Linked DNA regions of Homo sapiens: all the other regions are linked to region 3. Evidence: promoter capture Hi-C in 16 types of primary human blood cells and fetal thymus (Javierre and others, 2016). All regions are on one chromosome and are shown on one strand. Each heading gives the region's core, a stretch centred on a gene start or on the middle of the fragment in contact. The rest is flanking DNA. Distances are from core to core; before and after follow the strand shown. Region 1 overlaps SUFU (SUFU negative regulator of hedgehog signaling). Region 2 overlaps SUFU (SUFU negative regulator of hedgehog signaling). Region 3 holds the start of PITX3 (paired like homeodomain 3). Region 4 overlaps SUFU (SUFU negative regulator of hedgehog signaling).

Evidence for each region. The method cuts DNA at HindIII sites, captures the fragments that hold promoters and counts their contacts. A CHiCAGO score of 5 or more calls a contact.
Region 1: a contact is called between a fragment that was not itself captured here and the fragment with the promoter of PITX3 in region 3, in 1 of 17 cell types (activated CD4 T cells). The highest score is 5.2, in activated CD4 T cells.
Region 2: a fragment that was not itself captured here is called in contact with the fragment with the promoter of PITX3 in region 3 in 1 of 17 cell types (activated CD4 T cells); the score reaches 6.9 in activated CD4 T cells.
Region 4: a fragment that was not itself captured here is called in contact with the fragment with the promoter of PITX3 in region 3 in 7 of 17 cell types (erythroblasts, activated CD4 T cells, total CD4 T cells and 4 more); the score reaches 7.7 in erythroblasts.

The regions. Positions count from the first base shown.
Region 1 is chr10:102,620,053-102,626,825 of GRCh38, forward strand. The region is part of intron 10 of SUFU (SUFU negative regulator of hedgehog signaling); the gene reads left to right. Among named protein-coding and RNA genes, the nearest start is that of TRIM8-DT, 20 kb to the right of the region's middle. The HindIII fragment of the contact is 4,153 bases long and covers 3,042-6,773 here.
Region 2 is chr10:102,506,259-102,512,497 of GRCh38, forward strand. SUFU (SUFU negative regulator of hedgehog signaling) reads left to right here. Exons shown (of 12, transcript NM_016169.4): 2 at 2,911-3,045. Among named protein-coding and RNA genes, the nearest start is that of SUFU, 5.4 kb to the left of the region's middle. RefSeq lists an enhancer at 5,909-6,048. The HindIII fragment of the contact is 640 bases long and covers 931-1,570 here.
Region 3 is chr10:102,238,956-102,245,103 of GRCh38, forward strand. PITX3 (paired like homeodomain 3) reads right to left here and starts at 2,557. Exons shown (of 4, transcript NM_005029.4): 1 at 2,378-2,557. It also overlaps a transcript of GBF1 not described here. RefSeq lists a silencer at 2,419-2,708. The HindIII fragment of the contact is 9,988 bases long and covers 1-6,148 here.
Region 4 is chr10:102,599,383-102,605,189 of GRCh38, forward strand. It overlaps SUFU (SUFU negative regulator of hedgehog signaling), which reads left to right. Exons shown (of 12, transcript NM_016169.4): 8 at 51-162. Among named protein-coding and RNA genes, the nearest start is that of TRIM8-DT, 41 kb to the right of the region's middle. RefSeq lists enhancers at 370-1,120, 4,338-5,537. The HindIII fragment of the contact is 3,650 bases long and covers 1-3,075 here.

The DNA.
Region 1 (6,773 bases), core at 3,868-6,367, 380 kb after region 3:
AGAGGAGTAGGAAGGAGTGAAATCCAATAGACCCAGGACATGACGAGACCCAGTCTTATGTTCTCTTAACTGCTGCCGGAACTCTCCCATTGGTCCCAGCTGAAATGGAGGGGCTGGGATGACTTTGTTACAGCAGCCTTGGAAGCCCTCACTCCCAGCCTTGGCACCTTGTTCTGGCCACCAGCCCAGCCCAGGCCTGTTATCTCTTGGGAGAAAGCGTGGCAGAGACATCCTGCAGGGGGAAGAGTGACAAGGAGAGGCCGAGAGGAAAAGGCAGAAGGTTTAGGAACCCGAGCCCCTTTCCGGAGCCTGTGGAATGGCCCCAGACAGGCCTCCACACCCACCTGCTCCACAGCCTTCCCCCATCAGTCCAGACCCAGGAGAGTCAGGGCCCCAGCATGTGGCAAAGCAGGGCTTGTCTGCAGCACCAGGTGGAGCACAGTGGACACTCCCTGCTTTATGGAGGATCTGGGGGTGCAGGAAGCCAGCTCCAGTTCCACAGGCTTTCACTTTCTGGAGAACAGCACCTTGACTCCGTCTGCCCTGCCATTTGCTGTTTTCATCCTTGCTGAGACTGTAAAGCTTATCAGCCAATTCCGGGGCTGTGCAGGAGGCTCTTCAGACCCTGGGAGGGGGCCTGCCAAGGTCTGCTCCTGCACCTCCTTCCCCCAGCATTCCTCATCCTGGTGGCTTTAACAAGCCTCTCTCCCTTGAGCCTGTCAACACTGGGCTGTTAGTCTTCTGAGCGGGAGCCCGGCCCAGAGCTGAGTTGTTCATCCGTCCCCAGCCAGGGTTGATCTGAAGGGGGATAAGTCTCAGCCCCAGCGGTCACATAGGGGTCACATCACCAAATATGAGAATATTGTTTTAGGCCCCGCAATGCTTTCTCAGCTGTGTGGTGTCTGACAGCTCACCCAGGTTGCGCCCCTAGTCCCAGCCATTCTCTGCCAGTCCTGATGGGAAGCCCCAGGCGTGGGAGAAGACGCCCAGCAGCTGTTCCAAGTGGGCTCTGCTGCTCCAGGCCAGGCTTGGGAAGGTGCTGCCGAGCTCTCCTCTGGGCAAGCCCTGCCTTCTGCTACCCATTTGGATATTGTGTAGAAGATGACTTGGGAATCCCCAGCCCATGCCCTGGGCACCTCCTCTTTGGTGCCTCTACTGTTCCTCCTTCCACGGGTGAACCCAGGCATACTTATTCTCCCTGGAGACCTTTGCTTGGACTGCCCCGAGACCTTGTTGTCCAGGGGGACACCCATTAAGGTTTAGAGCCCAGCAATGCGCCTGGGGAAGTACCCTCCCTTGTAGGAAAGGACTGTGATGCCGCCCTGTGTCCCTGGCAGCCCACAGCCAGAGCAGGAGTCTGAGCCCGCTTCTGGCCACCAGAGCCAACTTTTCACCGCCCACTAAGAACAGGAAATGAGCGAGACCTGTGCCCCAACTGCAGCCCGCTACCTGCCGCACCACACGCCTCTGTCCCTGACCTGGGTTGGGGGTGTTCTCCAGGCTGTTTTCTGGCTTTTGTCTGGCCTGTGGAGTGGGGGTGGGAGGGAAGGGATGCAGACAGGACTGCTTCCCCGTCCCTGCCTCCTCCACTGCCATCGTGGGTGCCAGAGCAGCTCCTTGGCAGGCTCTTCCACTGTAAACAACACATTTCCTTCCCTGAGAGGAGGAAAGGGAGGGAAAAGAAAGCCAAATTTGTTGGGAAGCAAGTACAACGTGTCAACATGAAGAACAAACAATGCCCTGGACAAAGTGTGGATTGTCATACCAAAGGGAAGGAGTGGGCATTGTCAGCCACTCTTTGCAGACTCAGAAATATCATTGACCACAGACATCTGAATCGGCGTCAGATCTGCAGCAGCTGGGCCCCTGCCTGCAGTGCAGCCTGGCTTGCCCAGGGCAGGCACTGACACAAGATCACTTTTCGGGTTCCTTTCTGGAACTTGCTGGGGCCTGGGGAATTGGGAGGTTGTTGACAGTCCTCCCTCACCACCACCCAGCCAAGCTGGTTAAGGCAGCTGGTGTGAGCCCACTGGAGTAGCTGCTGGCCTAGATTCCAAGCCCCCCTCCCTGGCCAAAGGTGGGAACTGGGGGTAACCAAGATCCATTGCCCCCCTCGCAGCTCAGCCCGTTTGATGGTGGTGAAGCTACAGCCACCAACTCACCCCTGTTGGTTAAGCCTGTGCCCAAACCCCCTTTCCCTGTGGGCCTGAGTATTTCCCCAGCAGCCCCTCACCATGATCTCCTGGGGCACCACTTAAGAATACAAGTGCTGGCCAGGTGCGGTGGCTCACGCCTGTAATCAGTCCCAGCACTTTGGGAGGCTGAGGTGGGTGGATCATCTGAGGTCGGGAGTTCGAGACCAGCCTGACCAATGTGGAGAAACCCCATCTCTACTAAAAATACAAAATTGCCAGGCACGGTGGCTCACACCTGTAATCCTAGCACTTTGGGAGGCCGAGGCGGGCGGATCATGAGGTCAGGAGATCGAGACCATCCTGGCTAACACAGTAAAACCCCGTCTCTACTAAAAATACAAAAAATTAGCCGGGCATGGCGGCGGGCGCCTGTAGTCCCAGCTTGTTTGTCTGCTGTTAAACAGCAGACAAAACTCCAGCCCCTGGCCGGGCCCAGTGGCTCACGCCTGTAATCCCAACACTTTGGGAGGCTGAGGCAGGAGAATGGCATGAACCCAGGAGGCGGAGCTTGCAGTGAGCCAAGATCATGCTACTGCACTCCAGCCTGGGTGACAGAGTGAGACTCCGTCTCAGAAGAAAAAAAAAAAAAAAAAATTAGCTGGGCATGGTGGCACATGCCTGTAATCCCAGCTACTTGAGAGACTGAGGCAGGAGAATCACTTGAACCCAGGAGGCAGAGGTTGCGGTGAGTTGAGATCGTGCCATTGCACTCCAGCCTGGAAAACAAGAGCAAAACTCCGTCTCAAAAAAAAAAAAAAAAAAAAAAAAAGCATGGGCCTTGGCCTTACCCCAGAGTATTCTGATTCAGGAAGTGTGAATGGGGCCTAGCATCGCCATATTTTCAGAAGCTTCCCAGGGGAGTGTGCTGCTCAGATTGGTTGAGGGTCTTCCTCTCTTACTAGAGGGTCTCCTCCCTCTGAGGGCTGTTTGTGTACAAACATAAGTGTTTTCTGCCTGGCTCTTGGTAAGTGCAAATATCAGTGAGTGCTGTTATCAATATTATTTCTACTGCTACTTTCTGGGCTAGAGAACTGTCAAGATATATGTATTCACTAGGCTGGCCTGGGAATTTGCCCCACCGTCCCCACTTGGGAACCATCTCTGGGCATTGGTTTGCCTTCCTTTTCATTGGCCAGTCTGGTTTTTTAGCAGTGTCTGTGACTCTCAGGCTTCTAGCCCTCTTAAGTTGAGCAGGTGGCCAGGAAATGTGTGGCTGGTGGAGGTTGGGACTGCTGATTTTCCAGGTCATTGGTAAAAACCAAAGCTACCTTCACCTCCCTCATCAGAAGACAGAGAAGTTATCCCCATCTATATAGGCTTCTACAGTTGGGGTGTCTTCCCCAGACAGGAAAAGAGCATCCTCTATCACCATGAGATCAGATAGCCGTTCCTCTAAAGTCCAGAGCCTTGAGCCAGGCGTGGTGGCTCTTGCCTGTGATCCCAGCACTTTGGGAGGCCAAGGCGGATGGATCATTTGAGGTCAGGAGTTCAAGACCAGCCTGGCCAACATGGCAAAACCCCATCTCTACTAAAAATACAAAAATTAGCCGGACATGGTGATGGTCACCTGTAATCCCAGCTACTCGGGAGGCTGAGGCAGGAGAATCGCTTGAACCCAGGAGGCGGAGGTTGCAATGAGCCAAGATTGTACCACTGCACTCCAGCCTGGGCGATAGGGCAAGAGATTCCATCTAAAAAATAAAAAGAAAAGTCCAGAGCCTTGTCTCCTCTGGGTACCTACCCTTGGGCAAAGTGGGGATGATAGTCACCTCCCTAGCAGAACTGCCATAAGGATTCAATGAAATGACACTGATCAAGCTCTTAGCACAGCGCCTAGCACATGGTGGAGGTACTGCTTCTGCTATTGGCCATTTTTACTGTCATTTTTATCATCACCATTCCCATTATTATTCGTGACAGAGCCAAGCAGCTCTGTAGGGACCCAGTGAGCCTCAGGAGTGCCAAGCCCCAGAACTGCACAGGCTTTTCCCACAGTTGCATCACAAGGGCAAGTCTGTTACTCGGGAGAGCTCCCAGGAGCTGCCCCATCTTAGCTGTCTATCTCCAGTGTCCTGTTGATAAGATCTGTTAACATTCTCAGCTCCAGGTCTGAAATATACAAAGAACAGGGCCTGTTTGTTCAATCCAACCTTCTAAGGTTTAACTCCCAAAGGAAATTAAATTAGGTGCCTGGAGCTATGACAGTCTGTCGTGTTTCTTTGCAGAGAATGTCACCTTTAATATCATGTAGATCTCATGTATAATTTTTCCCCTTTAATTCTTTTAAAATAACGTGAAGTTTCCAGCGGGAACCAGCAAATCACCAAAAGCAAAAATGGAGGAGCAGCTAGGGTTTGTCCTCATTTTTGATCTGGCCATCCCCTCCCCCAACCGAGTCCAAAATAAGTCCACACACAGATGGTGCCGCGCATGGTCGTTGCTCTACTAAAAGCCACCATAACTCACCCTCTCCTTAGCACCAGTTCCAGACCTTTGTCAGGGGAACCAGCTTAGAATTGAACTCAGTGTTGGTGGCATTACGTTTCCTTGAAGAATAACTCTGGCGTCTCACTGGGTGGCCACAGCCTCTGTGAACCCTTGCCCCTCTTCCTGTCCTCCCTCCACCCCATCTCACCCCCAGCACTTGTTATAGTCCCACATCTATTTACTGATCTGGCAGAAAGCCCCTCCCTCCAAGTTATTTGTGAGTTAGAAATTAGCCCAGCCCGGCCCAGACTGGAGCCATTGTAATATAATTGGGTTTTAGGTATGCTTGTGTTTGTGCTAGCATTTGCAGAGATGGCAACGAGCCCCGGAAATGCCAAAAATATGAATGTAACTTTTGTATTGCTTGAGCAGACTGGTGATAACTGGTGGGGAAACTGAACTTTTGGGGAGGACACCCCTGGGATAAGAGAGTAGGAGGAGCAAGGGCTTAGGCTGTGAGAGGGAGTACGTGTATGGCTGGAGTCTGTGGGCAGAGTCGGCCAGTCCCACTTTGGGGAATTAGGAAGAACTGTAGGGGTGCACCTCCCCGAACTTTGCCAACTTTGCCTCTCCTGCTCTGTCTCTAAGCCTTGTCTCTGTCCTTGGTCGGGGCCCTAGCTCCTAGAACAGAGAGTTTGGTGAGGAGACGTGGACCAGTGGTCAGAGTTATTTTGTTCCTGCTATGGGCTTGGAGCCTGGGAAGGCTGGGTCTCTTGTCTCCTTGCCAGCCAAAAGAGGGTGCTTGTCCTGGTGGGAAATGAGCTGCCTTCATGCCTGTGTCCCTGGAAGGATGAATGGATGAGTTAGTGTCCTGGGGGTGAGAGTTCAGCATTCGGGAGCAGTACTCCAGGCACTAAATTGAGAGTCCAGACATGATCAGGATATGGTCTTAACCACTCACAAGCCGTGTGACACTGAGCAAATTACATAACCTGCCTGTGCCTGTTTCCTCCACTGTAAGGAGACATGGAGATGAGCAGTTAGCATGCCCGGTATGATGGCGGCTTTTCTGCTCACTTGGGGGTAGTGTTCTTATTTCTCACTCCCTCCTCCACCCCGTCCACTTCTTGCTTTAGAGACCTCCGTCCTGTGAGCTCCCGAGCCGTCCTGTGTGCTCACCTTCCTGTGTGCACTCCTTCCTTGTTATCTCACAGCGTGGAAACTTTTGTTCTTGGCAGCTGACAATTCCCAGGGGAAACCTGGTGGGTATTTTTTCAAGTTCTCAATTCTCCTCCTCACAGGGAGGGTTTCCCCTCAGAGGAGCCCCTCACCTGGATCTTCACCCCATTATCTTTCTTCCTTTGTGCCCTACCTGGGTGCTCAAGGTGTACGGGAGAAGACAGGTAGAGCTGTGGCCTGGGGGTACAGAAGGGTCTGCAGTGGAGGGAGGCTGGGAGGCCCTGGGGACAAGGACAGGGAGGGGGAGGGGTGAAGGAAGGGGTCACAGTTGGAAGAGGAAAGACACCCTCACCCAGGGCGTGGTGGGGTGCAGACCTGGGATCAGCTTGGCCTGGCTCTGCCTAGCAGCCTGACGAGAGGGGTGGGTGGGGAAGAATGGCCCAGCAGATTGAGGAAGGCCGGTTTTAGAGGGCCTGAGAGCCCTTGGACGTTGGTATTGGCTGTGAAAACTTCTTTAGCGGATGAAGTTGGTGTTTGTGCCAGCCAAATAGTGGGGCCAGACTCAGCATCAAAGCGAGAGGCAATGAGGTGTCAGACTAGAACAGCAACGTGGAATGCTGGGAGGTGACCTAGAGAAGAGGAACCTCAAAGAAGGCTGGAGGAACTCAGTGGCTGATCGAGCACAGCAGGTCAGGGGCTTGGGAGCTTCCAGCCTGGGAGGATGTGGCTACTGTGAATGGGAATGGAAGTTGGGAGTCCCTTTGTCATCTGTAAAATGAGACGTTGGTCCACAATCTCCAGATTCTCCAGCTCAGACATTCTTGGATGTACCTTCCAGGGCACTTCCAGATTCCAGATAGGGCTTGTATTCCAAATCCAAACAGTTTCCTTTTGTCCTTCTACGGTGAGGGGCAGAGGGGGACACTAGAGCCTGACTGGGCAGCAGCTTTAATTTAATTTTTTTTCCTTTTA
Region 2 (6,239 bases), core at 1-2,500, 270 kb after region 3:
TAACAGCCATATCTTCAGAGATGGGCCAACATGTGATAATGAAGAAAAGGGATTATACAGCACTTTGTGAAAGCCCTTCCTAGATGCAGAAAAGTATAAAGAGAAACAGCACAGTGACTGGTACTTTCTTTTTTTTTTGAGACAGAGTTTTGCTCTGTCACCCAGGCTGGAGTGCAGTGGCACGATCTTGGCTTACTGCAACCTCTGTCTCCCGGTTTCAAGCGATTCTCGTGCCTCAGCCTCCCAAGTAGCTGATATTACAGGCACACGCCACCTTGCCCAGCTAATTTTTGTATTTTTAGTAGAGGCAGAGTTTCACCATGTTGGCCAGGCTGGTCTCGAACTCCTGACCTCAAGTGATCAACCCACCTCGGCCTCCCAAAGTGCTAGGATTACAGGCGTGAGCCAGTGCGACCAGCCATCAGTGACTGGTACTTTCTAAGATGTGGAGGGGTTTGCAAAAATAAGATCCTGAAATTCATTTATATTCCTCACATTTGGGATCCCACGAGGTTTCTAGCAGGATGACTGACCCAGGCTGTCTGGGTCTGTCTGTGGCCCAGGGTAGCTTGGGATTCATTTTGCAATAGCAGTGTGGCTCTGTGACTGGTGATCCCTGAGTAGTGGGGACATTCTAACTGAAAGCTGAGACTTTGGTGAGCAAGGATCAAAGCAGAGAGGCAGAACCTGTACTCATGGCCCACTTCAGTCCTGCAACTGCCCTGCAGAGAGAAGTTGGGTGTTCAAGGAATTAAGTTGAGGGATGCCCTGGGACCTTGGATAACATCATTTGCTAAGTGTAAAATGCGATTTTTTTCCACATACTCATCTGGCCTCTGAGTAGTAAGTAAACAGAATACTCTGTGCTTGGGGACAGGGTTAATTTTATCTGACTCTTGGTAGTTCCTTGCAGTTGGAGTTTGAAGGTTAAGCTTCTCTCCTTGATGTGACACCTTGTGGGAGACTTGGTGAGAAAGAGGGCTGCAGGGATGCTGCAGATGGAGCAGAGAATGGTAAACACAGTTTTGCAGCTTGGTGCAGGATGGACCTAGGCTGTAGCGGGGCAGGTTTGGAAATTTGCAGCAGGAAACTGGAGCAGGTATGGGGCCTGTAGTGGCTCTCATCTGCTCTGGAGTTCTGTAGCTCTAATGGGGTCTTTCCAGGGATCTCTACTCTTTTCTTTCTTCCCTTGCCCCACAAACTTTTCTAAATCCAACCTGTTGTAGAATTAGTCAAGTGATTTGTTGAAATCAGTTAAGGCAGACATGGAGAGTTGTCCCTCTTCCTCTGTTGAGATGCTAAGCTATTTGTAGCAACTTTCTTAAAAGTTCTATAAATAACTTAGCATTTCCTAACAGAGAATAGGGATTTCTATCCACAAAGGCAAATAATATCCTGGTGAAAGAGGACGAAACAAGACCAACTGGTTTTAAATAGTGTTTAAATTGCCTGGTGCTGGCACCATTGACTGGGATCACTTGTAACATGTCTTTTATTTGGTTGTTAGCTTTCCACCAGCATGCTATCCCAGTTGCAAAGTGTACTCCATCGATGTCCCAGGGGCAGGTGAAGCTTTTGCAGTCTGTGGAATGGTCAGATGTTTGAGGCAGCTCAAATGCCGTGTTTGTGGGCTAAATGCAGACTTCCTTCCACTGATGGTTTCTATTTGGTCTATTTCTCTAGCTACCAAAATTTCTTATCCATTTTTTTTTTTTTTTTTTTTTTTAGACAAAGTCTCACTCTGTCACCCAGGCTGGAGTGCAGTGGCGCAATCTTGGCTCCCTGCAACCTCTGCCTCTGTTGTCCAGGCGATTCTCCTGCCTCAGCCTCTCAAATAGCAAATAGCTGGGATTACAGGCACCTGCCACCACACCTGGCTAATTTTTTGTATCTTTAGTAGAGATGGGGTTTCACCATGTTGGCCAGGCTGGTCTCAAACTCCTGACCTCAAGTAATCCACCCACTTCGGCCTCCCAAAGTGCAGAGATTACAGGTGTGAGCCACCGTGCCCGGCCAAAACAGGATTTTTTTTAAAAAGCACTGATTACTAAAGGGAACTCTTATTGTATTAAATCCTCAGAGTGAGATAATAACTGAATCTCTTCCGCAACTCCTTCTCAGTTGAATGGTGGGGGAAATTTAATGTGGTCCTGAGAGGCCCCAAATCATTTACCATCCCAGCTCTACCTTTGATGTGGCAGTCTCTCCTGGGATCATTTTCTGGGTGCAGATGCTCACAGGGCGCAGTTTGACTCCTTCTGCAGTTCTCTGTGCAGAACTAAGTTAAGCCTAAGTTTGGCCTTTGTCACTTGCAATGATAAGAGACCAGCTTTGGTCTATGGGGTGCAGGCTGGTGTCAGCACAGACTAGAGGCTTTGGGTTTGTTTAGAACAAACTGTAATTAACATAGGGCACAATATAGTCTTTCAGGAATTAGCTGTCTAAGAGGCTGGAGTGGAGCAGAGCCTCTGCTTCCAGGAACAATGCCCATTGGGGATGCTTGGGATGGTCTTTCAACAGAGGCCAATTGATTGACTGATGTACCTCTTGCCTTGAAGCTTGGCATGTATACAGGCACCACAGAAGAGAGACAATCCCTGCCAATCTCATTTGGGATCGGTAATTTGAAACAGGAGAAAGCAAAATGGGTAACCATCCAGTCTGTTTTATTTCTAAAAGAGGCCCAGTCTTTCAGGGGTAGGAGAAGGGAGCCTCTTGGGCTTGCAGAGTTGGGCAGCCTTAGCTGTCCATCCCTTAGTCTCATTCTGGAGAGATGTGGCCTCTGTTTAGTTACCTTTCACCCAGGTTCCTCCAGGATGGGTCCTTTAGGTTTACAAAGTAGAGCGCCTTAGCTTGACATTGTCTGATTTCCAGGCTTACACTAACACCCCTGTGTTTTGTTTTTTGCAGGTTGGGTGGCCCAGACCCCTTGGACTATGTTAGCATGTACAGGAATGTGGGGAGCCCTTCTGCTAACATCCCCGAGCACTGGCACTACATCAGCTTCGGCCTGAGTGATCTCTATGGTGACAACAGAGTCCATGAGTGAGTATATGCCACCTGTTCTTTATCCAGAGCCTTATTCCTGAGGTCTTCCTGAGCAGGGGTGACAATGTCATAGTGCTGTGAGCATGGTACTTCTCCGTGGAACCTCTGCATTTCTGCCCTCTGACTATATCTACTCATGCCAAGGTGGTCCTCGTTAACACCTGATTCCTGCTTATCTAGTGCAGGAAAGTCTTGATGAGCAGGATTCCCAAATCAGGTTTTTCTAAGCTTGCCCTGGAGTTTGGGCTCATAGGACAGGAAGGTAGCATGGTTATGACTCAGAACTTGGGCTGATGCCTCTGTGTCTACTTCCTTTTATTCCCCTAGCTTATTATGAAACATTTTAAACATAAAGCAAAGTTGGAAGGATTTTATAGTGAACACTCATATACCCACAACCCAGATTCTACTGTTAACTTTATACTTGCTTTATCACAAATCTGTTCATCTCTTATCCTTTATCTATCTTACCTACTTCCTTTTAACCTGTATTTATTTATTTTTTTATCTTAGTCTGCTTCCGTTTGTTGCCCTATATGCTTTTTTTTGGAGATAGGGTCTCACTCTGTCATCCAGGCTAGAGTGCAGTGGTATGATCATGGTTCACTGCAGCCTCGACCTCCCTAGGCTCAGGTGATCCTCCAACCTCAGCCTCCCGAGTAGCTGGGACGACAGGCAAGCACCACCATGCCCAGCTAATTTTTGTAATTTTTTTGTAGAGACAGGGTTTCACCATGTTGCCCAGGCTGGTCTCAAACTCCTGGGCTTAAGCAGTTCTTCCACCTCAGCTTCCCAAAGTGTCGGGATTATGGGTGTGAGCCACTGTGCCCAACTCAGAGTTCATACTGTTAATGACTGTATTCTCTTGCCTTTTGAGCAATTATATCATGTACTCCAATAAGCTACCAACTATTTTTTTTAGAAACAGAGTCTCGCTTTGTTGCCCAGGCTGGAGTGCAGTGGGGTGATCTTGGCTCACTGCAAGCTCCACCTGCCGGGTTCACGCCATTCTCCTGTCTCAGCCTCCTGAGTACCTGGGACTATAGGCACCCACCACCACGCCCAGCTAATTTTTGTATTTTTAGTAGAGACGGGGTTTCACCATGTTAGCCAGGATGGTCTTGATCTCCTGACCTCGTGATCTGCCTGCCTCGGCCTCCCAAAGTGCTGGGATTACAGGCGTGACGACTGTGCCCGGCCTGCTACCATCTATATTTTAAAAAGATTTTTTTTGGCTGGGCACAGTGGCTCATGCCTGTAATCCCAGCACTTTGTGGGGCTGAGGCAGGTGGCTCACTTGAGGTCAGGAGTTCGAGACCAGCCCGGCCAACATGGTGAAACCTTGTCTCTACTAAAAATACAAAAAATTAGCCAGGCATGGTAGCATGTGCCTGTACTCCCAACTACCCCGGAGGCTGAGGCACGAGAATCACTTGAACCTGGGAGGCAGAGGTTGCAGTGAGCTGAGATCGTGCCACTGTGCTCCAGCCTGGGCAACAGAGTGAAACTGTGTCTTAAAAAAATAATAATTAGGCTGGGTGTGGTGGCTCACGCCTATAATCCCAGCACTTTGGGAGGTCGAGGCAGGCGGATCACCTGAGGTTGGGAGTTTGAGACAAGCCTGACCAACATGGAGAAACCCTGTCTCTACTAAAAATAATAAAATTAGCCGGGCGTGGTGGCACATGCCTGTAATCCCAGCTACTAGGGAGGCTGAGGCAGGATAATTGCTTGAACCTGGGAGGAGTAGGTTGCAGTGAGCCAAGATTGTGCCATTGTACTCCAGCCTGGGCAACAAGAGTGAAACTCCATCTCAAAAAAAAAAAAAAAAGTAATAATAATAATAATAATAATGAAAATAAACAAAGTTTTTTTTATTTATATTCTTTTGATGGAGAGTTTCTTTTCTTCAATTTAAATGTAATCTTTCTATGTTTGTATTCTGTCAATTAAAAATAAAATAAATAGTCTTCCCTCAACCTCATTAGCATGGTTAATCAAGAGCTGATTTTATTTGTATTGTCATATCCTCTTCTGGTTTTTGCCTTTTGTACTTTTTTGCCCCTTATACCATGTCTTTTCTATCTTGGTGGTGGCTGCTTAACCTGGGCAGGTTGAAAGAGTAGCAGGACTCGTCCTGTCCTGCCTTTGCATAGCGACCAATTCTGGAGATGATGATGGTATCATAAAGAAGATGATGATAGCCTTTTTTCCCTTTGTTTAGTACTTACTGTCTTCCGTGTCATTGTGTTAAATGCTTTACAATCTTATCAGGGTCTCGTTATTCCTATTTTATAGATAAGAAAAATGAGTCTCTTGAGGGGTTAAATGAATTGCTAAAGTTACAGATCTAGGGGTAAAAGAGCTGGGATTGAATTGGGCTGTTTGAGTCCAAAGTTTGAGCTTTTTTGTTTTGTTTTTTGAGACAGGGTCACGCTCTGTCACCCAGGCAGGAGTGTAGTGGCTCAGTCATGGCTCACTGCAGCCTCAACCTCCTGGGCTCAAGCAATTATCCCACCTTAACCTGCCAAGGAGCTGGGACTACAGGCATGCACCACCACACCTGGCTAATTTTTCAAATTTTCTGTAGAGTTGAGGTCTCACTATGTTGCCCAGGCTGGTCTCAGATGCCTGGGCTGAAGCGATCTTCCTGCCTTGGCCTCCCAGAGTGTTGGGATTACAGGCGTGAACCACTGTATTCAGCCTCAGAGTTTGAGCTTTTAACCACTGGGCTATTCCACCTCTCTGAACACAGGCCTAACCCAACTTCCTCTTCTCTCTTGTTAAGCTCAGAGGCCCAGGTTTCATCTCTTCGCTGGTCACGTGTTGGGAGCAATGTCTGCAGCTGCCTTTACAGCCTTCCAAATGGATTCATTGCAGTGTCAGCAGAAGGATTTGGGAAGAGGGAATTAATCTTGCCTGAATGGGGACCCAGCATTACAGTATTAATAATGGAGATAGAATAGCAAACAGATGTGGGGAGTAAAGAGACTATGCTGGACCTTAATTTATATTTTTAATAAGAACCTGCAGAGAGTATTTAGTGCAGCTAGCCTGTACCTTTTTGTTGACAGATTTATTCTGGTTAAAAGAATATCATTTCCTATGTGGCTTAAGGATTCTTCCAGTCTACCTGCTAGGTATAGGCCCAAGGCCCAAAATAACATGAAGAATGTGATTGAGCAAGCCTC
Region 3 (6,148 bases), core at 1,307-3,806:
TGCCAAAGAACATTTTTCTATTCATCCTGAGCTTGCATCACTCCAGTTCTAAAAGGCCCCCTCATCTCCAGTTTCAAGATTTGGGGAGCAAGCAATTCTTCTGCATATCTAGGTCTTTTATTATGCTGTAGATTTCCATCCTGTCTCACCTTCCAGAGGACTAAACTTTGAAATTTGCCCTCACCAGCAACCCCTGGCTCCCCATTCTGCCAATCATTCTCTGACCCTACTCTAGGCCCATGACATTCTTCCTAAGAGCCAGTGACCAGGCATGCGTTCAGTTACAAGGCTTTATGCAAGGGTGGGAAAAGGTTCTGTCTTTTGTTTCCAATCACCTTCATTATGATACCACCTCTTTGGCCTTTTTGGCAAAAGCCAACTTTGAGCTAAAGTCTTCAGGGAACCATCTGTAATGCTTTCCCTGTTCCTTTCCTGACACAGAGTCCTTCATTTCACCTATAATTTCAGTGATTTTATGGGAGCACAGCAATGGGAGCACAAGCCCCTGAAAAGTGTATCAGAATGTGATGGGGATAATTGTGGTGTGTCTTTATATTGATCAAAATAGGGCAAATGAAAAACAAAAGTTGAGAATCCTAGCCAGTAATAAGCAAACTTTAGAACTGAGGAATGGACATGGGAGTATGGGGAATACGTATTGTATGTCACTCACAGGTGAAGGGTAAGAAAGGTTGAAACCACTGTTTAGATTACTCATTGCTAAATACAATGCCTTGCACTTGTCCTTGTGAAAACTCAGTCCCCAGCTGGGCTATCTTGCTCACTTATATGGACTCGTTCTCCCTGTTCTGTCCTCTTCAGCATAATTGAGCTGTGGTTAGAATTGGGGTCAGGGTGGATGGTCACTGTATGGGCCCAGCAGAGTCAGGGCTGTATCCCAGCTGCAGGGAAAGTAAACCCGGCTGTTAGGTAGGGCCAAGATATCCTTCCCAACCAGACTGAGAGGGCCAGATAGCCCCCTGTTGGACTCCAGAGTCTGGATTCCATGAGCCTCCTTCCCACCTCCGCTCAGCCACCAGGGTGGTGTTGGGACTGGTAGGGCTGAGGAAGAAAAAGGGAAACAGGACCACAGGATTTGCTTTGCTAATGGGGCTGTAGTTTTCTCTTCTGGCCTGGGCTCCTGCCCACTGTAGGGAAGGAGCCATTGGTCGCCTGATACTCCAGCAAGGAGTCTGGGGGGTGTCTGGTTAATTGTATTGGAATTAGGGGGCAACTGAGGCTGCCAGGGGCTTGTACCCAGCTCCTTCCTGTTTTCCCATTGCCTTTTGTCACCTATTCCTTCCTTTCCTGGTCTTGATTCCCACTAGCAGGCTCCTCATTGGCCTTCTGTCCTCAAATTTGGATTCTGGAAGTACAGAGTGATGCTCTGATCTATTCTGAATTGAAGGGGGCATGTGTCCCAGCCCACCTCACCCCAAGGCCAGGTTGTAGCCTTTACTCTCGCTCCCTGCTCACAGCTTCGCAGCCCGAAGGAGCTGAAACAAGTTTGCAAAGTGTGAGCTGGGATTTGAGGTGACCCACCGCAGCCGACCCCATCGCACACGCAGCAGCTGGGCAGGCGCTGCTGGGTAGACGGACATGCCACCCAGCCAGGGACATTCTGTCCGCCACTGCCAGACACAACTCCCGCTCCGGAGAGACCCACTTCGCTACCCGGACATTCTGTCCGCTCCGAGCCCCATGCACCGCGGACATTCTGTCCGATTCTGAGGCGGCCTCAAGTCAGGACCCTTCTGGGCCCAGACACCCCAAGCCAGATCCACTATACCCGCCGCCTGGTCACTCTGATCCGCACAGCGGCCATCTGACTCAGTCGCGGCCGGGCTCTCACAACACAGCTCCTATTCCAACTGCGGAGCAGCTGGGAAGAGAAGCGTGTGCGACCAGGCGCACCCCGGCTCCCAGCCCCAGGAGTCTGAGCCTAGGCCGAGGGGCATCGGGCGCCGTCAACTGCCCCCACACTGGGGGCCGCCCCGCCAGCTCCCCCGCTGGCCAGGGCCTCTGTAACCCCTTTCGCTCCCTGGCCGCCTGCCCCGTGCCCTGGGATTCCAGGGCGCTTTCTGGTAATGGTTTCCAGACTCCCTACTCCCTGCCTCGCGAAGCCCCTATCCTGGTTTCAAGTCTCCGGCTTCGTTCCGGATCCTCTGAGTCTCCCCCTTCCCTATCCCCTGGTTCTTACCCTGAGTTTCCCTTTTCCCAAGTCCTGGCCCCAGGTCTGCAGTCCGCCCTCCCATTCTCGACCTGTTCCCAAGGCACCGGAGTTCAGCTGCCCCAGGTCTCGTTTTAGGGATTCCAAGGTCCAGCAATAGCTCCTCGGCCCCATGAGCCCCTGTCCTTAGAATGGTCAAACACTCACAGTGCGTCCTGCAACAGGCAGACTCCCAGTAGCGGCGGCTGCGGCGGCGATCTAGAGGGCAGGCAGGGGCCAGGGGCCGGGCACCCGGCCGGAGTGGGGGCCGCCCCCCTGCTCCCGGGCCGCCTCTCCGCTCGGGCGCTCCTGGACTCTCGGAGGGAGTGAGCCTCACCGCGTACTGCCACCCCCAGCCGGCGCCCATTCACTTTATGGCAGACCAGGGCGCCCCCAGCCCGCCGCGGCGAGCCGCGCGCGTCAGGCCCCGCCCCTTTCCAGCTGCCCTGCTGGGGCTCCGCCCTTTCCAGCTGTGGATCTCCAGGCCCCGCCTTTGAGGGAGGGGTCTGGCCGGCGAGACGCCAAGAACCCCGCCCTCTGGCCAATCAGAAGCGCTCTTCAGCAACTCGGCCGCGCCCCTCCCCACGTGGCAGAGACCGCGCTCCGGCTAGGACGCTTAGGCAGAGCCAAGTGGGCGAGAGTAGAGTGGTCCCGGTAGCCACGGGTAAAAGGGATCGGCTGGCAGCGAAGTGGGTTGGGCCGCTACCCCGAGGAAAGTGGATCGGCGCCAGGTGGGAAGGCGCACGGGGCCGCCGGGTCTCAGCGCTCAGACTTCTCTGCCACTCAAGTTTCGCCGATTTTCTCCACTTGTCGCTGTCCGTCTCTCCTCCCTTTTGTCTCTGTTCCAATCCTCCCACGTCTCGCCTTTCTTTCCTCTTCTTTCTCCTCAGCCGCTTCGCTCCTGCTGTTTACCATTCTCCTTCCTCTGCCACTTTAAAAGACTCATTTCTCTTTCTCTCTGCTCCTCTTTCCTCATATCTTTCCTCTTCTTCATTTCCCCCTTCTTCTCCAAGGAAGGTGACTTCGTGGAGACAGCAGGGTTTGGAATGATACAAACCAAAGTAGTATTCCAACGCTGCCACGAACTGCACCATCACTGAGTGAACTTGGACGAGTAACTATCATCTCCCTCCCCGCGCAAAACAATTAAGAGGAGGTTCCTGCTGGATCTCAGGGCTTGGGCTGGGCACTCCAAAGGCATTGCCTTTCAGTCTGTACCCTTGTCTTGCTTAGGCTGTGCTCTCCCTCCTTCAGCAGGGCTGGTTTCCCGCTGGTGGTACCAGGTTAAGTCCTGTGGGCAAGGTGTGGCCTTGGTGCCTGCTGGTTAGGAATTTGCAAGGGACAGGACAGATGACCAAGGAACATCCTGGCAGACTGTGACTTCGGCCCTCTCTGACTTAGGCCTCAATTTCCAGGAAACAGGCTCCTTCTCTTCTCCCAGTTAGGCTATGTTGCTTGGGTGCTCCGAAGAGCCTAAGCCCAGGCCAAACACTGTGGCTCATGCCTGTAATCCCAGCACTTTGGGAGGCCGAGGCGGGCGGATCACAAGGTCAGGAGATTGAGACCACCCTGGCTAACACGGTGAAACCCCATCTCTACTAAAAAATACAAAAAATTAGCCGGGCTTGGTGGCGGGTGCCTGTAGTCTCAGCTACTGGGGAGGCTGAGGAAGAAGAATGGCGTGAACCCAGGAGGCAGAGCTTGCAGTGAGCTGAGATCGCGCCACTGCACTCCAGACTGGGCGACAGAGCAAGACTCTGTCTCAAAAAAAAAAAAAAAAAAGAGCCTAAGCCCAGTCACACAATATGCCCCTAAGGCAAATCTGAGCAGTCATGTCTTGACTGTTCAGTGACTCCCATTGCCCTTAGGATAAAGGTCAAGCTCCCTAGCCTGGCATACAAGACCTTCAGGACCTGACCTTGTCTTCATCTCCAATTTCCTAGTAGTGTCCTGCACACCTCTGGCCCTTCCTGTGAAAGTAACCCATCTTTATATTGTCAATTCCTACTCCTCCAATGTTCCACTCAAGTCTTATTTTCTCTGGGAAGCCTTTTCTGAACTCTCAGTTTAGCCCCTTGCTCTCATGACCCTCAGTGTATACCTTCTATTACACCACCCACCATATTGAAGGGATCAGCTTATGTGTTGTCTGCTATGATAATAAAATTTAGGAGGGTAAGGACCATGTCTGTTATTCCCAGGCATAATGTAGAATCTCAATAAATGTCACACTGAAATCTATGAGGAAGATGTTCTGCCTGGTAAGATGATGATTAGTGGTTAGGAGGGACTAGGGAATTGTCATCTCTCTCCTCCCCATCTCTATTGCACAATCACATGCTTTTAGAATGATGAATTTCTGGAGGTATGTAGAAGTAGATATTGGCGAGCAGAAATTTTTGGCCCACTTAGAGGATTTTCCAATCGGCTTTCCAGGACCTCTCAATCTGAGACAGGCCCAGGACACCAACTCTCAGTTTTCAAATGAAGAGGAAAATGGCTTTGAGGTAATGTGGAAAGAGGTGCTATGATGGTATATCCTCTTTCCCTGACTCTCTTTGGGTGATAGAGGCTAGATCCTCAGCTGGACCCACCGACCAGAAGCCCAATGTGCAGGTGTAGGAAGTTACTGAGGGGTTCTTCACGTCTGATATCTGATGGGTGCTTTACACTAGAGCATCGTGGCCAGGTGTGGTGGCTCACACCTGTAATCTCAACACTTTGGGAGGCTGAGGCGGGTGGATCACCTGAGGTCAGGAGTTCGAGACCAGCCTGTCCAACATGGTGAAACCCCATCTCTACTAAAAATACAAAAATTAGCCTGGTGTGGTGGCAGATGCCTGTAATCCCAGCTACTTGGGAGGCTGAGGCAGGAGAATCACTTGAACCCAGGAGGTGGAGGTTGCAGTGAGCCAAGATCACAGCACTGCACTCCATCCTGGATGACAAAGCAAGACTCTCTCAAAACAAACAAACAAACAAAAGACAAAAAAACAAAACAAAACAAAAAAATAGCGCATCGTAGCACACGGATGGTCTTTGGATGTCTGGTTTTGAGACTACTTTCCTATGTGGTTAGTTATAGAGCTTCCCTGGACTTGGGTCGTCCATAATTGGGAGGATGTATGGAAAGAATTAGGTATTTTTTTTTCACTGCCTCCCAGCAGCTTCTCCAGGTCTGCAGGGACACTGGGGCTCTAGTGTCCCAAATAGGCTGGGAATTTCATGATTCAGTCTCCTAGGAGAAAACCCATCCTCTTGTCCTCTTCTCACGCATTCTCACTTCCAGGTAATACAGGTAATTCTAAATAGCTTAGTAACCTCTATCATCTCTTGCAAGGGGAGGAGGCAGCTGGGGGCAAGACAGTGAAAACAGGTGGGCATCCAACCCTCAGGCCCCTTAGCGTTTCTAAGGCAAACAAGAAAGACTTCTGTTTCCTATCACTGATGAGGTGGGCTAAGCTGCGTATTTAGCCTGGTGGATAAGGCCCGTCAAAGGCTTGGTATGAAAGGCAGACCGGGAGTCAAAGCCCGATATACTAAGGCATAAGAGGTGACAAAAGGCGATGAAAAGAGTTGGCCTGGGGGTGAGGAGACCCAGGGGTTCGTCTCTCTGCTCTGCTATTTACTAATTATGTGAACATGGGCCCAGCCTTCCACCCTGGGGCTGTTTCCTATAATGTAAAATGAAGAGACTTAAATTAGATATCCAGGGCTTCTGCTACGTCCCATTTTCTCTATTTCTGGATGATGGGAGTGGGGCAGAGGACGCTGAAACAGAGTTGGGACGTGACAGACATAACTGTGAGAAGCCACGACAGGGAAGGTGGACAAGAGGGCGAGGAGAGCAGGGTGTGGAATAGATCGCTGGACTTGTTTTTAGAATGAAGGGAGCCCAGAGCTGCCTCGAAAAGGAGTGATTCCTCAAGGGGCATGGTC
Region 4 (5,807 bases), core at 1-2,500, 360 kb after region 3:
ATTGCTGGGAGCCCACTGGGCCACTGGGCAACTTAGTGGTGTCGTTGCAGACACAGAGCAGATCCGGGAGACCCTGAGGAGAGGACTCGAGATCAACAGCAAACCTGTCCTTCCACCAATCAACCCTCAGCGGCAGAATGGCCTCGCCCACGACCGGGCCCCGTAAGTTCCCCAGTGTCCCTGGGCTGGAACAAGAGGACGACTTTTTTCTGAAGGGCCTGTCCCTGTGGATTGCATGAGAGAGAACAATGCACATAGCCCTTGCTGGATGGGCCCAGGATCTCTAGGCTTAAGGGCAGGCATGGTCTGGGGCACACAGATCTATCTGTGGGTCATAGGAGAGGGCCTCAGAGGGGACCCAGCAGACCGTGAATATTAACATCAGTAAATATTTACATGAGCCGTGTGAACAGACAGGAGGCCAGGTTGGGGAGAAATCTGACTTGGGGCCTCCCAGCCTTGTGGGAGCCCATTGTGCTGAGCACGGTTCCCTCCTTATCTCAGTCTTGGCCAGAGTTGCCCTTCCTTCCTTCCTGGAGCCTGGTCTCCGGCTGATAGCTGCAACCCTGGGGGCCTCCCTCTCTGGCCAGCCCCATACTGGATGCCTGTGGCTGAGGCCCTTCTTCCTGCCTCTCTTCCCTGGGGCCCAGGGAAGGGAAAGGAAGTCTTTTGCAGGCCTCTGCTGCCTGTCCAGGGGCCCCTGTAGCCCTCCGGAGAGACTGTGGCCACCCTAGAGGTCAGATCCGCTTCCTGCCAACCTCTCTTCCTCTGATAGAGGGGATGAGTGATAGGCAGGGCTGAAGCTGGGCACCCCCCTCTGCCCTTAGTCCCAGGGCAGCTCTAGGGAATAGCTGCTGGCAGGAGATACCTGGGGGCTGGCAGCCCAAAGCAGGAACCTTGCCTGCCAGGGAGGAAATTGCTGTGCCTTGGGCTGAAAGGGAGGTTGATCATCCTGCAAGACCAGGGTGATCTAGCCTTCTTCTATGAAGTCTTTATTACACATTTGCTGTCTGACAAGCTCGGACCTAGGGGGCCATCTGGGGTGCACAGGCTCTTCCTTTGGGAGAACATGAGTGAAACAGTTACCTTTTAATGGTGTGCATCTGGCTGTCGATGTGATTTGTTGGAAATGGCTGCTTCTCTGGATTCTAGCTCTAGTTGCTGATCGTGTTTCCCAGAAGTAGTAATGCTTCAGTGCACTACAGAAAAGACAGGTCCACAGGATCTGGGGTAGTTAGGGAGGGCATCTTGGAGGAGGAAGAACATAGCATCGACCTTGAGGGCACCTTAGAATTTTAATAAGCAGGGGAAGGAACTCAAGAGGATAGCACAGGGGAGGCCTGGCTGGTTAAAGTTGAGGCTGCCTGCTGGGACCTGACTGGAACTAGAGTTACTCTGGGAACAGGGCTGTACTGAGAGTTGAGCTCTTTGGCAAAAGCCTGGAGAAGCCTCCACCGCCACCTCAGAGCAGCTTTTAACTCCGGCCTGTAGGTTTCTCCAGCCAGCTGCCCTGAAGTAGCTGGCTGGAGGCATCCTGATCATCCCCTGGCAGCAGCAGATGGCCACACCAGGTCATACGACATATGGAAGCTCTCTACCTGTGAGTCTGGACCCTGTCCCGGGTCTACACTCCTTCCCATTCCCTGAGCTTGGCTTCTCGCTTTGGGCCTCCTTGGCACTGTTGGCAGGCCAGAGGTACTGGAAGGCCTATAACATGGACACAGTCTCAGTCCAGATGGCTCTCTGCCTCTGGAAGCCTGGGGTTTCTAGGCAGAAGGGCACAAGCTCCTGCAGAGATACAACCTTCTTGCCCCGCTTGTGTATCTGGAACAGGCCTGAGATCTCACTCCCTGGCTTGGGGGCACTTCCAGCTACTGCACCCCTGGACATTGCAATGGGGCACAAGGCTCTGTGCTCCTAGATATACACATAAGCCGAGACTCTCAGCCTACACCCTAACTGGGCAGTCGGGTATTGGTTCTGGCCCAAGGGTTCTCTGTAAACATAAGGCAGAGAGGCTGCAGCTTCTACCCTTTGGCTTGAGTTGGCTGAGATACAGAGAGATGGGTGAGAATAGATTCGAGGTGCCGGGGTTGTCTCCCCTTCCTGAAGGTTTAGTGCCCAGTAAGGTCTCTAAAGCACCAGGACCTGTAGTCTGAGGGGAATAGAATGTTTCCTCTGAGGCTGTCAGTATTGGTTACCAATTTGTTAGCAATTGGTTGAGAAATGGTTTCTCCTCCTCCTTTGCCAAGAACATTCTCCAACACACCCCTCAAGCCTGTCAGACTCAAGTTTCCTGTTATCTCAGGATCGATGATGATGGACTCAGTTCAGATCAGTGAGCGTGACGGTAATATCTGTGCTGCCCACTCTGGGACCTGACCCCATTTCACATACACCACATGGATTGCAACTGAGAAAGCTGACCCAAAATGTGCTGGCACCAGTGTTTGCTCCTCTCCCTGTTGGGGGGCAGCCAGCGTGGGCCATATTTTGTCTGCGGGTCTGATTTCCCCTTAGTCAGGACTTCTGGGCCAGGGAGCTCTTATGCATGGGTCTTCGCGGGTTTGTCTGTGGTCTAAGGAAGATACAGAGCTAAATCAGAGGCTCAGAGCAGCTGATCAAGCCTGGGCAATAGCAGCCGGGTGCCGGCCTACTTGGGGGTGTCAAGCACTTGCTCTTTTCACACTTCAGCAGCAGCTAAAACCTTATTAGTGCTCATTCTGTGCTAGGTAATGTGCCAGCTACTATGTGCTGCCATTCATTTATCTTATCCTCATAGCCATCCTGTGGTCGATAATCTTACATATTCCCCTTTAATGGATGAGGTACAGAGAGGCTAATAAGTATCTTTTCCAAGGTTGGAAAGGGGTAGAGCTTAGTTACAGCCATCTATCAGCCATTAAAATGGATGTAATCTTCCTTACCCCATTCTCAGGGACCCCATGGGGGACACATCAGACTGTGTCTCTGAGAAAATAATGACCTTTACTGGTAGAATTCATCTAACTAGTTGCAGCATGAATCAGGACCTCTCACATGGCACCAAGGACAAGGCCAAAGCCTCATATTAGAAGCTTATTGGGCTTATTTAACTAAACTCTAGGGGAGTTAAATAACTCCTATGAGATGCCATGAGCCTTGATGATTCCAAATCCCAGAAATAACAAGCTATGTCATAATTGGCTCATTTATACCAAAATTATTTTGTGACACAAGGCCTTACTTTCTTCATGTGCAGAAACTAAAACAACCCTCTCTCTGGTCCCTCTACCACCTCAGGGCTAGGGGATTTCTTTCCATTTTGAGGGTCTATTTCTTCCTTTCCAGAAAGGCAGGCCCCCTGGGTAACCCGCTCCTCTCCTACTCTTCATTGCCAGCCCTCCTCCCACTGCCTTCCCGGAAGGAGAGTCCTTGGCCCTCTTTGGGGCTTCTTCAGCATTTCACAACCCTTGCATTCCAGCCATGAAATCTGTATCTGGCTTTTCCCAAGATGATCAGTTGAGAAAAGCCTCCTTCAGCTTGCTGGCGCCTCCCTTCCCACTGCCTGCTCGGGTGAGTTTGGGAAGGATGGGAAGCAGTTCCTTTGTGCCACATGAGGACAGCCTGGCTTAAAGACTGTGCCTGCCAATATCTGTAGAGATTTGAGGAGGGAAAAGTTCCTGGGCATCCTCTCTGTCTGAGGTCACCTGGTCAGACATGGTCTACGGAGTCTGGTCTCTCTACAGTGCACAGAAGATACGTGTGGTCAGGTGAATTGTGTGTAGAGGTTTTCTTTTATTTATTTCTTTTTTTTAGACACAGGGTCTCCTTCTGTCACCCAGGCTGGAATGTGGTGGCAAGATCATAGCTCACTGCAGCCTCGAGCTCCTGGCCTCAAGTGATCCTCCTACCTTGGCCTCCCAAAATGCTGGGACTACAGGCATGAGCCACCACACCTGGCCTGTATTTCTCTAAACTGTTGCTCAGATGCTGGGAACCTGCACCAGTATTCTAGGGCCACCTCCTCCCTCAGCCAGTGACTTACCACCTGAGGCTGGGAACTCTTAGGAAGCTCTCTGAGTTGTGTGCCCTCCCAGAGAGGGACAGGGCACATGCAGGTGTGCACACTTATGTTAGAGGGGAAAAGTTCCTGACTATGGGAGAAGCACTTTGTAGTTGAGGCACCTCTAAAAAGCGAACTCACCATCACTGCTGAGTTTCTCAGTCTTCTAGAATCACACCAGCAGCTTTTAAGACCTTTAAAAAATTTTTTTTGCCTTAATTTCATGGAGAATTAAGATTCTGTACCATGAATTCCTCTGCTGTAACATTCACATTTGCAACACCTCCCCAACATACACACACACACATATACATAGATTTCTCTCTACTCTTAGGAGTGTCTCTGCACTTGTCTGTTTGGCCTTTGATTGGGGTGACTTTGCTCCCTCTAATTCCCATCTTGAATACCTTGTAACCTGGCCAGGGAGTCATCCTTTAGAGAAAATTGTGTTTTGTTTTGCTCAGCTTGTGAGGTCCATGAAGATTAATTAGAGGAAGAAAATATCTTGTTTGCATCCAACTTACCAGTGAATTGGGGTGAAGGAAGGTGAGTTTCCATCTGGGGAAACAGCTGGGCTGTGGCTGGTGCCGCTCGCACGAAGGGCAGTGTTGGGTAACCCTGCTTCAAGGGGTCTCTCCTGTCAGCGCAGTGGCCAGCCTGGAGCCCTCTCTGTCACGTTGGCTTCCCTCACACTCCCACGCTGGGGAAGTACAGTTGCTTGCACTGGAAAGAAAGCCCAGAAAGAAACAGCCCTTCTCTTAGGGCCCCAGCCAGACTCTGCAGGGCTGATGAGAGGAACAGCCCAGGCCTCTCTGCTCCCTGCGTCCTGGACAGCAGGCTCCTTTTTGCCTCCCTCACTGTGATCCATGTTGTCATGCCAAGTGCCTTTACAGGCCTTTCTCAGAAATACATATTTGAAAGGGCAGAGCAAGGGGCTCCACAGCAAGTCTGGCATGGGTAAATTTCTGTTTTAACTCCGTTCTTTGCTCCGCTTCCCCAAAGAGATGAAGTCACGGCCATTGTTAACACCTCAACTTCAGAATTCCTTGCTGGTGCTTGAATTCTCAGTCCAAACGCTGCATCCCCCTCCCTCGAGTTGCACAATCAGGGGTATTTTTATCGCCCATCCTTGATCCTCGGTGTCACCCAACACTTCAGCAGTGAGTCACTTCTCCAGGGAAGGGAAAAGGAAGGCTCAAAGGTAAGAGCTAGAGAAAGGAAATGACTCAGTGTCTCAGAAAAAGGAAAGCTGGGGTTCTGGCTAGAGTAAGCTCATTCAGGAGAGTAGGGGTCCTAATCTCCCACCCAAGTCAGAGGGTAGGGCTGGGGATGGCGGCCCCTGGTGCCCAGAGGAGTTAATAGTTGACTAGGAAATCCCCTAACCTTGATGCAGATTTTACTCACCCTGACTTCTTTAGCCATACTCTGTCCCACCATTTCATGATTTCATGATCACATTTTACCTTTGGGATATTCCCGATGAAAATATTGCCTTTTTTTTTTTTTTTTTTTTTTTTAACACGAGGTGAAGTCTCACTCTGTCACCTAGACTGGAGTGCAGTGGCACAATCTCGGCTTACTGCAACCCCTGCCTCCTGTGTTCAAGCGATTCTCCTGAGTAGCTGGGATTATAAGCACACACCACCACGTCCAGCTAATTTTTGTATTTTTAGTACAGATGGGTTTTCACCATGTTGGTCAGGCTGGTCTCGAACTCCTGACCTTATGATCTGCCCGCCTCAGCCTCCCAAAGTGCTGGGAT